Linked DNA regions of Homo sapiens: regions 2 and 3 are each linked to region 1. The links are contacts of gene promoters, found by promoter capture Hi-C in blood cells and fetal thymus (Javierre and others, 2016). All regions are on one chromosome and are shown on one strand. The core of a region is centred on a gene start or on the middle of the fragment in contact, and the rest is flanking DNA. Distances in the headings are between cores, read along the strand shown. Region 1 holds the start of HMGCS1 (3-hydroxy-3-methylglutaryl-CoA synthase 1). Region 2 overlaps SLC1A3-AS1 (SLC1A3 antisense RNA 1). Region 3 overlaps LOC124900962 (a long non-coding RNA gene).

The links. Contacts are between HindIII fragments. The CHiCAGO score rates a contact against its expected background, and 5 or more counts as called.
Region 2: a contact is called between a fragment that was not itself captured here and the fragment with the promoter of HMGCS1 in region 1, in 1 of 17 cell types (total B cells). The highest score is 5.5, in total B cells.
Region 3: a contact is called between a fragment that was not itself captured here and the fragment with the promoter of HMGCS1 in region 1, in 2 of 17 cell types (total CD4 T cells and naive CD8 T cells). The highest score is 8.8, in total CD4 T cells.

What each region holds. Positions count from the first base shown.
Region 1 is chr5:43,311,880-43,315,333 of GRCh38, reverse strand. It overlaps HMGCS1 (3-hydroxy-3-methylglutaryl-CoA synthase 1), which reads left to right and starts at 1,922. Exons shown (of 11, transcript NM_001098272.3): 1 at 1,922-1,978. RefSeq lists enhancers at 1-400, 495-1,009, 1,010-1,526, 1,533-1,762, 2,013-2,152. The HindIII fragment of the contact is 3,835 bases long and covers 1,206-3,454 here.
Region 2 is chr5:36,721,412-36,724,942 of GRCh38, reverse strand. The region is part of intron 1 of SLC1A3-AS1 (SLC1A3 antisense RNA 1); the gene reads left to right. Among named protein-coding and RNA genes, the nearest start is that of SLC1A3-AS1, 2.0 kb to the left of the region's middle. RefSeq lists enhancers at 758-1,027, 1,068-1,117, 1,128-1,177. The HindIII fragment of the contact is 2,087 bases long and covers 372-2,458 here.
Region 3 is chr5:36,242,122-36,245,530 of GRCh38, reverse strand. All of the region lies in intron 1 of LOC124900962 (a long non-coding RNA gene), which reads right to left. It also overlaps a transcript of NADK2 not described here. Among named protein-coding and RNA genes, the nearest start is that of NADK2, 1.9 kb to the right of the region's middle. RefSeq lists an enhancer at 3,082-3,281. The HindIII fragment of the contact is 1,971 bases long and covers 933-2,903 here.

The DNA.
Region 1 (3,454 bases), core at 673-3,172:
ACCATTGCTCCATCTGTAAGGGTGCACCCTTCTATAGAAGTACCTTGCCTTGCTGAGAATTAAAAAGAAAATTTTATATTCGACTGCTATTTCTTTTGCAGCATGGAAACTTTATTTATAACAAGATCTTCTGTATCTAATTACTAACCCTTTTTGTTCTCCATTGCTTGGCTTCCCAGTAATCAATAATCATGCTCACTTTGCTTAATTGAAGATTAACGTGATCAAAAAGACGGTCTGTTCCTTGTAGAAATTTCCGGTTGTGTAAGATGGTCATTCTCATGACCGTCTGGCTAATCATTTCCCATTATGTACTCCTGGAGTTGGAATTATTTGCGATTCCTAACGACAAAACTGTATCTTCTTTCTTGTGTTTGTCCTTACTGCCTTTCAGCATATTCCAATATGCCAAGAATTTTAATCTCCTACCCCACCCCAAATTGCTGTTGATCATAATCAGGCAATGTCTCTCTCTCTGTTTACTATCTAGTTACTTTACATACATATGAAGTGAGTCATGGGCAATACTGTGGAATGGAAATCATTACTGAGTGGTCCTCTTCCCCCAAGTCATTTATGCCACCACTTCACAGTGGTTCCATTTCCAATATATTTTGCCACTTTGCTGCTGAGAATGTGTCTTACTAGGTTAGCATCTATAGTGGTTAAAAGAATCTCCCATAACAATAATTGTGTGAATCACAGAATTACCAATGACCCCTTATCAATAGCATTCCTGTTAATTAAATTGAGATGGGGAGAGATACAAACAACTCCGAACCTCACTCATGGTCCCCCACCAAAGCTAAGTATTATGGCTTCTCTCTCTGACCAGATAGAGGCAGAGTTTATTGCAAAGCCACAAGTGTCCTCCTTTGGATTCCCCCAAATAGTGTTTCAGTGAATTCCTCTAGCTTGAATTGCTCCTCTCTATTTGCTGGGGGAGTTAGGCAGTCCGTATCCGATGGATTTACTATGCCGACAATTACGTGGCCTTTCCACAGCCTTTTACTTGGCAGGTACCACATATGAAGCTTAGAAGATACAGTGGGCAACAGGCCAAATGGAGTCCCTTTCCTCAGAGTGCATGGCCTGGCAAAAATCCTTGAATTCAGTATCAACTTCCCTTCACAGGCAAGGCTCTGCACCCTCCCCACGGATGCCTAATCCTGAAACCATTTTGTTTTAGGTTTAGTTAGAAAGCTTTGTCTCAAGAGCACTTTTGTTTGTTCTGTTTTCTTTAAGTCAAGGTAGTTTTGAATAAAGGAGACAATATTTGAGTATTTACAAATCGGGTATTTAGACTATTTACACATATACAAGTTCTGGGTGAAGTATTCTGCTCCAATTTGCAATCTACGCACACTTTGCTAGAAAACGTTAAGACTGAATTCAAATCAAGTACAGTATTTCAGAAATCTTTCAGGTGAAGCCTAGTTCTGGTTGCTAGGCAACCTGACAGACTCCCAAGCTGGGACCACCTCGCCTCCCACATTTGACCATCTCTCCAGCGGTGGGACGCGGAGTACCCATTGGCCCGCATCTCCTCTCACTTAGTCCCAATTGGTCGGAGAACCTCTCACTCCGCTCCCGTTGGCTCTCGCCGTATCTCGCAGCTCCGTCATTGGCAACTGGGCTCTCGTGCCACCTCACGTCAGTCTCTCACACCACTTCCTCGGCCCTGAGACTTTGTCCCCGCCTCTTCTCCCCGCCCTTCCAGCCACGAGGGAAAATCCTAGCGAGTCATCGCCTCTAGTTTCCTTTTGATTGGTAGAAGCCGGACTGGGGGGCGGGCGCTGCCGGGCAACTCTACCGGCCGCGATTGGCTGTGGGAGCCACCGTCCCGCCTCCCAGCGACTCTCGGCGGTGCCGGAGTCGGGTGGGTTGGCGGCTATAAAGCTGGTGGCGAAGGGGAGGCGCCGCGGACTGTCCTTTCGTGGCTCACTCCCTTTCCTCTGCTGCCGCTCGGTCACGCTTGGTGAGTGTCCCGCGCTGGGGAGTAGAACTGGGCTGCGGAGGTGCCGCGGGCGGGGTGTGGGCCAGACAGAGGCGGTGTCCTTGACTAGGCCCGAAGGAGCTGGGGCTCTGGGTCAGGACGTAGGCGTGGACTTTGCCCGGGAGGATGGGGCACCGTGAGCGGGGCCGGGCGGGGGTTCCCTCGTGAGGGACCTGAGGCCGACCGTAGCGGATCTGAGAAGATCCGAGAACACAGGCGAGTCGCGGAGGGGAGAACGCGAGAGGGCGTTGAGGTCTAGGTATTCTAACGACAGAGGAGTTGGAGGTGCCAGAGAGGCAGCTGTGACCGCCTAGAGGTGAGTGGGGGGTGTCAGGAGGGGGAGAGAAGACAGTTGGGCTACCAAGGCGTTTCCAGAGCGTTGGTTAAGGGTGGACGCCAAAGGATGGGCAAGATCCTCTTTAGACGGAGGCTGGTAGGTTCGCAGGGGGTGTGTCCTGCTGCCACATATAGAGTTGATGGAAAGAAGGGAAGTGGGTAGCATTACTTTTCTTCCTCAGCTCAGGTGCAAGAAAGCGTTCACAACCGTGATTTAGACCTGGCTAAGTACTGGGGCTCAGTCTGTACTTGCTTCAAATCTCATAGATCACTGCCTCCCGCCTTCCTGCCTCCATATTTTTTTTTGTCTACGTTTTAAAAAATAGGCTTCCTTGGTGTTCTGAAATCCCACATCTCTCTCCTACTAATACCTTCGGGACCAGCTTTAGGTGATACAGTGTAATGGGCAGGCACTCACAGAGTCCTCCCACAAATAGGTTTTGGATTAAGCTAAGGATATTTCAAAGCAAGTATATGGAGTCTTTGAAAACCCACGTCTGGCCTTGACCAGTGGTAGAGAAACGATTATTCTGATCCACTCTGGAGGAGGGATTTGGGGAACAAATAATGTGAGGTTGTGCCTGTTTGTCATGCTTGTCCCTATGGCCTTAGCCTTAAGGCATCAGTAGCTGCTTTCACTGCTCACCTCTGCTGCAGCTCCCCACCTTCCCGAGGATGCTCTTGCCACCTGCTGCAGTAGGATGATGTGTTCTGGTTGCTGCTAACTAACATTTGCTCTGTTTTAGGCATGAATATGAAAAACAATGACAAGATAAACAACAAAATTAAGACAAATGGAAGTGCTCCTAGAGTTAACAGATTTTTCCTTCTGAGATGTGTTTTGGACTTTATTGCACAGATACTATTAGATGAGAGGCAGTTGAAAGTCGTTAACATTATCCGTGTCAGTAGTTCTTTGCACTTGAGACACCTAAGCAGCTTGTGTTCTTTAAACTTTATTTTAAAATTGCAGTTATTTTTGTGTGAAGAAGGGGGCAGGGATAGCATACCTTATGGGAAGAGAGAAAGGCTTTCTTTGTGTCTACCTTTGTAGATATTTCTCACCTAAGTTTGTAAGTTTGCCCTTTATTCGGTTCTACTTTAGTTCAGCTCAATTCTAGT
Region 2 (3,531 bases), core at 166-2,665, 6.6 Mb after region 1:
CTGTAAAGAGAGCAAGAGTGAAAGCCACAGCAGGGGAGCTGGTCAGAGATGGCAGTGGCTTTATTAGAGTGGTGGCCCTGGAGTTGGAGACAGGTGGGAAAAACTCAAGAGCCCTCTAAGGAACCGACCCATGGCAGTCCATCGCCACCAAGTCCCTCTTACCACTCTAGGTTTAAAGAAACCCAAAAAACAAAACTACGTTGCAACTGCACTGCTACACCAGGAAACCTAAGGGGGAACAAAAGAAAACTTAGTAGTGCCCTCTAGGCTGAAGATTTGACCTATTATTTACTAACCTTTCCCTCCCTCTTCCTTATTTTCAACAAATCTCCTGCCATCCATTTTGAATTCTTCTCTAAATAGAGAAAGCTTTCTTTCTCAGCTTCATTTAAATGTCCACCATGGTATTTACCCATGTTTTCTTGATTTTTATTTCTTTTTGGGGCGGGTATCTAAAAGATAATCTGATCCCTGTTCCTGATTCTGTAGGTGACAGAGAGAAGTGGTTTTCTCATTTTTTTGTGTGTGAAATTATTCGCATATGAGGAAAAGATAGCTCAAAAATAGAAGCTCTTTCATTATCTCTCCACAATGTAGTGTGGCCCCAAGTGACTATTTTGTGGAGACACGGTAATTTGGGGTGGCTAAATCATTACCCCGAGGTGTGTCAGATGCTGCCAAGACCTCCTTCATTCATGTGGCCAAGACTGTGGGCTTCCTGGCTGGGGAGGCAGAGGCCCTGCTCTTCTGCTGCTAACCTTGGGGTCAGCGAGCCCTGATCCACACTTCCTCTGGGCAACATCAATGGGGCTGCTGAACATATTGAGCCAGACTTGTTTCCAAGAGATAGAAGGAACTAGAGCATTGGGGAAAGTCCCAAGTAACTCTAGCCCTCAGCCACCTGCTGTGGCTGAAGATGAAGTCTCTGCAGCTTCAAGAATCCAACTGGCTGGTGCACATTGTTCTCATTGGCTAGATCATTCCTCCATGTAGCACTTCACTAAACTCATTAACAAATATTTACAAATGACATTGCTTTTTGGGGTCATGTATATTTCAGTCTTCAGAATCCATCAGGCACTCAAATCCCTTGGCAGTTCTAGTTCTCTCCCCTAGACATGCCTCTGCCCCCTACTACTCAGTTCCTTTTATTTCTACCATTCGTTTTTATTTTCTATTTCATTTCTTTACTTTTTAGAGACAAGGTCTCTGTCACCCAGGTTGGAGTGCAGTGGCATGATCATAGCTCACTGCAGCCTCAAACCCTTGGACTCAAGTGATCCTCCTGCCTCGGCCTCCTGAGTAGCTGAGACTACAGGTGTGTTCCACCACATCTGGCTAACTTTTGTATTTTTTGTCAAGATGGGGGTCTTGCTATGTTGCCCAGGCTGATTTCAAACTCCTGACCTCAAGCTGTCCTCCAGCCATGGCCTCCCAAAGTGCTGCCTACCATTATAGGCTGCCATGCCTGGCCCTTATTTTTTTTAAAAAATGATCTTCTCCCTTCTATGTAATTCCTATTCTACCTGTATTATTCTTCTTTCCCTGTATTATGCTCGTCCCTTGCTCTTCTTCTCCTCTCCCTTTCATTTTAACCACTCTTCCATCTCCTGCTACTGCATGTGAATCAGATTTGCCCTCCAAATACCGTGTGTATCACCATCAGTTCAGTGGCAGAGGCTGTTCTTGCGCTGGCTTGGAAGATGACAGTTCCCAAAGTATTCCCCATAGAGGCTGATCGGTCTGACCCAGCTAATGCTACCAGTTAAAATAATCCTGGCTCAGGGCCCATGAGACTCACCAGTCCTTATGTGGTATTGGAAAGTGAAACTGATTTGGCAGCCTCATTAGATTATAATCAGCTCGAATCTTCCCTTCTGCCTTCTCAGAGCATCACATGTGTCCCCAGGAACAGCAGAGGGGAAAAACCACCTCTCCTCGCCCGCTTTCTGTATTTCTTCTAAGGTTCTTAGTTCAAATTAAATCTTTACTCTGTGAGAGCAGAGAATGACTCATTGGCCACCATGACTATCACCTTAAGTGGGCTTCTAATTTGTTTTAGAAGCTACTAGCGACCCCTAGGATAGCATCTACAATTTCAAGAGTGTAGTTTCAGAGTACTGACTGTATGCACCAATAGATGCCGGGCTGAGAAGTTGGGACCACATTCGGTAACAAGAGTGATAATAGCTACCAGTTCCTGGTTGCTTAGACACTTCTGTATTAACTTGTTTAATCCTCGGATCAATCCTATGGGGTATTTACTATCTTATCTTATTTTAGGAGGTGGACGCTGAAGCACAGAGAGGTTAAGTAACTTGCCTAAAGTAACAGAGTTAATAAGTGGCAGAACCAGGATTGGAGCTCCAGGAGACTGGCTCCAGAATCTGTGCTATTAATAGTTCCTTGCATCATAATCTGTAGGTTATGAGAACTACAGAAGGTTGGTACCTAAGCTTGGCACAAAGACAATGATACTTAGGGATAGTCATTTGGAAGGAGAGAGATAGAATAATTGATGGGAAAGTCAAGGAATCCAGTAACAGAGTCTCTGGTAATAATCTTGGTATGTGAATTAGGGTGGAATCTGCGAATGTGGAAAGCTATAGACATGAGAGATGACGTGAAGGAAACATTTGGACTAATGTGGGACATAGAGGGGGAGAGCATGGTGGGAGCGTTCCACCTGAGAGAATGGTGGGACCAGGGTCAGAAGGAGGGGTGACAGAAAGTGCCTCTGACTTGTGTGTAACCCTGAGATTTTAGGCTGATAAGGTTTCAAAGACTCTGGCTCCCCTACACTTCCTTACCCAACACTGTGTCCCCAGAAGGAGGGATGCTGCTGTGGATTAGTTACACTCCATGAGGCCAGCAGGCTTGAGGGCTAGAGGGTGGGGCTTTTGCTGGAAGAAGCAGAGAGATTGGAAAGAAACACCCTGTATCCCTCGTCTTCTCCATGTGTACTTTCTTAGCGTCTTCCTTTGCGTATGCTAGATCATGGGACGTCTGGTCCAGGGCACCTCTGGGCCTGATTATCCCCCAACTTCCTTGGATGACCTTTTGGCTGGGGCAAGGGGAAAGAAGCGTGGAAAGGTATCTTAGGGGACACACATGCTCACATTTTCACACAACCTCATACTTCCTCTTCTGGAGAGAAAATAGCAAGATGAGCCCATCAGGAACATGGTGGGGCCTGGGAGTAATTAGCCAGGTAACAGGATATTCCACCTGCCTTCACTCTAGCTCTGGTGCTCAGAGGAAAAGGGGGCCTCCCAAGCTCCCCAGGGTGGGGCTACAAGTTTGGGACTGAAACTCCAGCCTGTGCTGACCATGCATTTTCCCTTAAGTCATGTCCTCCTCTGTGCCTGGAGCAGAGGTCATCAATGGGGTGAGATTTAGGGACCCAGAATCCACCTTTCTCAACCATGATAATATTTCTTTTGTCTACCCAAACTTAAATTCCCTTCTCTAGTTCTTTAGTGTCCTAATCTGCTTATGTTTTCTTATTTCAAAAAGATACTCAGCAGTGAT
Region 3 (3,409 bases), core at 669-3,168, 7.1 Mb after region 1:
TGAAATGATTAGCTAATGTTTAGCCTAATCAAGACTTGATATGGATAAGTTTTCTAACAGAGTGTTACCAAGATTTCTTAATTTCTACCAATCTAGTGGATATAAAATATTATTTCACAATGACATTATTTGTATTTCTCTAATTTCCAATAAGGTTATCTTTTCAAGTATTTATTCACTGTTTGTGTTTCTTCTAAAAAATTCCTGCTCACGCCTGGGCACAGTGGCTCACACCTGTAATCCCAGCACTTTGAGAGGCCGAGGTGGGTGGATCATGAGGTCAGGAGATCGAGACCATTCTGGCTAAGATGGTGAAACCCTGTCTCTACTAAAAATACAAAAAATTAGCCAGGCCTGGTGGCACGCACCTGTAGTCCCAGCTACTCTGGAGGCTGAGGCAGGAGAATCCCTTGAACTCGGGAGGCGGAGGTTGCAGTGAGCTGAGATTGCACCACTGCACTCCAGTATGGACGACAGAGCGAAACTCCATCTCAAAAAAAAAAAAATTCACAATTTTTGCAAAGCTAATCATGTCATTTTCTCCTTTTGGTTGCCTCCTAATATATGCAGGATAAAAGGCAGGTTCCTAAGCATGGATTTAACATTTTCCATTGTCTTTACCCTTGTCTACCTCTCTAGCCTCACTTCCCCATGTTGCCTGCCTCTCTCTAAATTCTCTAAAATTTCAAAATTGCTAGTTCATTGCTTCTATGCATTTGTTCATGGTGTTTCTTCTGTGGAATTTCCTTCTCATTCTTGCTGATAATGGCTAATATTGAATTCATTACTTAAGGCTTAGCTCTTCACATTCCCAAAAAGCCTTCTCTAACTCTTGTTAGGTTGACTTGAGACTTGCTCCTCCAAATTTCTCAGCATTCTGTGTATAACTCTATCACTGCATAGACTTTAGGCTCCTCAAGGGCATGGAAGCTTTTTATCATTTCATCTGTAGCACCTAGCAGGATGCCTGGCCTACAGTGACACTCAAATTTAATTTAATCTCCACGAATGTGTGTTACATGTGTAAGATTTAAGAGACATTATCTAAAAGGAAACTAGATAAGGATTGGAAATTCAAGAGAAAGATCTGGGCTAAAGATGCCAGTAATAGCTGAGGTCATGAAAGGGGCTAATATTTGCCAAGTGTCTACTGTGTAATGGGCACAGTGCTAAGCATCTGTGCATATATTCACAATTTTACAAGGTAGCAATTATATTTTATAAATGCAGAAGTAGTCTCAGGAAGGTTAAACAACCAGTTCAAGTTTCACAAAGCTAATAAACAATAAAACTGAGATTTGAACCAAGATCCTTCCATTACACAACACTGAATGAACTCAGGAGCGTGTGTGTGTGACAGAGAGAGAGAGAGAGAAGGAAAAAAGACGGAGAAGAAGAGACAAGGAGACGAGGACAGAAGACATCTTGGAGATGGGTTTAGGAAGAAGTCAAAAAGGGACATAGAGATGGGAGAAACACTGTTAGGGACTGGTATGTTGGGAGACAGTAAAAGATTTCAAGAAGAAATGATAACCATTTCAAATTCTTTGGAAAGATCAATCAATTAAAGAACTGAAAAAAGTCTTTTGAGTTCCAACAAGATCTTTTGGTCACCTTGGAAACAGCAGTAATTAGCAAAGTAGTGGGGAGAAGCTAGTGTACAACAGGTTGAGGAATGACTAGGAGGCAGGGATGTGGCAATGATGAACAGACTACTCTTTCGAGAATCAGCTGTAAAGGTAAGGCAGGCAATATGTAAAAACAAAGGCTTAGAGGTTGTTTTGTTTTTTTAGAAAAATTTTAAAGATGTCATAGACATGAGCATATTTAAATACTGAAGAGGCAAACTCATTTGGGAGGGAAAATTCAAGATACCTGTGAGAGGATGCCTTCAGAAACACTATTTTTGAGGAGGTGGAAGATGAGACGCAAAATAACTATGGACAAAGGGCTATTCCAACTGAGATGTCAATGTATATGTTTGCAGCTGAAATGAGAGTCAAAAATCTGGGTTTTTATCTGTGAAATGGGAAGAAATGAGGTCCGAGATTTCAAATATGAGCAACAAAACTCAGACTTTGATCCCAAACAGTTTCTCCCTACGCATTTTTTTTTCTCTATCGAATGGATCAATTAACATTCCCCTGTTCACCCTGGCCTCAAACCTAAGCGTCATCTGTGATTTCTCCCTTTTTTTTTTCCTTCCTAATGCTAATGAAGTTTAAAATAGTAAGACTACAAAGGAGTCTGAGGATAGTTATAGATGTTACCTCTAGAAGCTCAGGTTATTAAGGTTGTTACACTACACGTCACTATTAGCAGCTGCTGTGAGGGAAAGTTCTTGGTGAGAACGGGTCAGTGGTAGAACTTTACCAAGTAAACACCTATCGGGCTTCATTGTGTATGCTCCCAGTCCAATACACTACCTGGCACACAGCAGGCACACCGCGGGAACCCACGAATGAACGCTGGTGCTGGTGGGCCCGTGAGGAGAGTCATAGATTCACTGAATCGATTTGGACTTGGTAGAACCTTGGGGTCACCCTAACCCCCTTTTTACAGATGAGGAATCTGAGGCCCAGAAAGATGAGGTAACCTGCCCAAAGTCCAGAAGCGACGTAGCGCCAGGACTACAAAGGAGCAAACACAGTGCCAGGGGAAGGGGATCTAAGGAGCTGCGGAATTGAACAGCAGGATGTGCACTGCCATGTGGTTCTCCCCTTACAATGGGACGTTTCCTTCTGTTCTCGTCACACCCCAGCCCAGGTCCTGATCACTCCACGGGTCATTATCCCAACAGCATCCCTTCCTCCTCTTCTTGCCTCCCAAGCTACCCAAGATTCCAAAGCCAGATCAATAGTCATCAAACATTGCTTTAACTCACTCCTTTCCAGTTAAAAGCTTTCAAAGAACTAATTCATTTGGACTTTGTCCTATAGGTAGGGCTCTTCGGGGGGGCAGGGGGCAGCGGGGCGGGCACTGGGTCCCACGCCGAGAGGATTTCGTGCCAAGCCACGCACACGGTGCAGCAGGAGCCGGGTCCGCCTCCTCAGCCCCCAGCCCGGCCCCAGACACACCAGCTATCACACCGACCCTGGTCAAATAAACCAATGGGCACGTGGTCGGCCTGCAGAACAGAACCCAAGCGAGCATATGCCAGGAACCTGCCTTCCCGCCAGCCGCTCAAAACCCCACCCGCTGGCCCCGCGCCGCCTCAGACCGGATCCAGCTGGATTCCTCAGGGCGACGCAATCGCCTAACAGAATTCTACCTCTTTCTCAGGCCGCAGCCAATGGCGCGGCCCCTCGGATCCGGAGCCGCCGCGGGCTCTGATTGGCCGATAGAGTTAGCCTGGGGGCGGGAGAAGAGCGACCTCGGGGAAGCGTGTGGTGCGGGGAGGTCGCCCCCG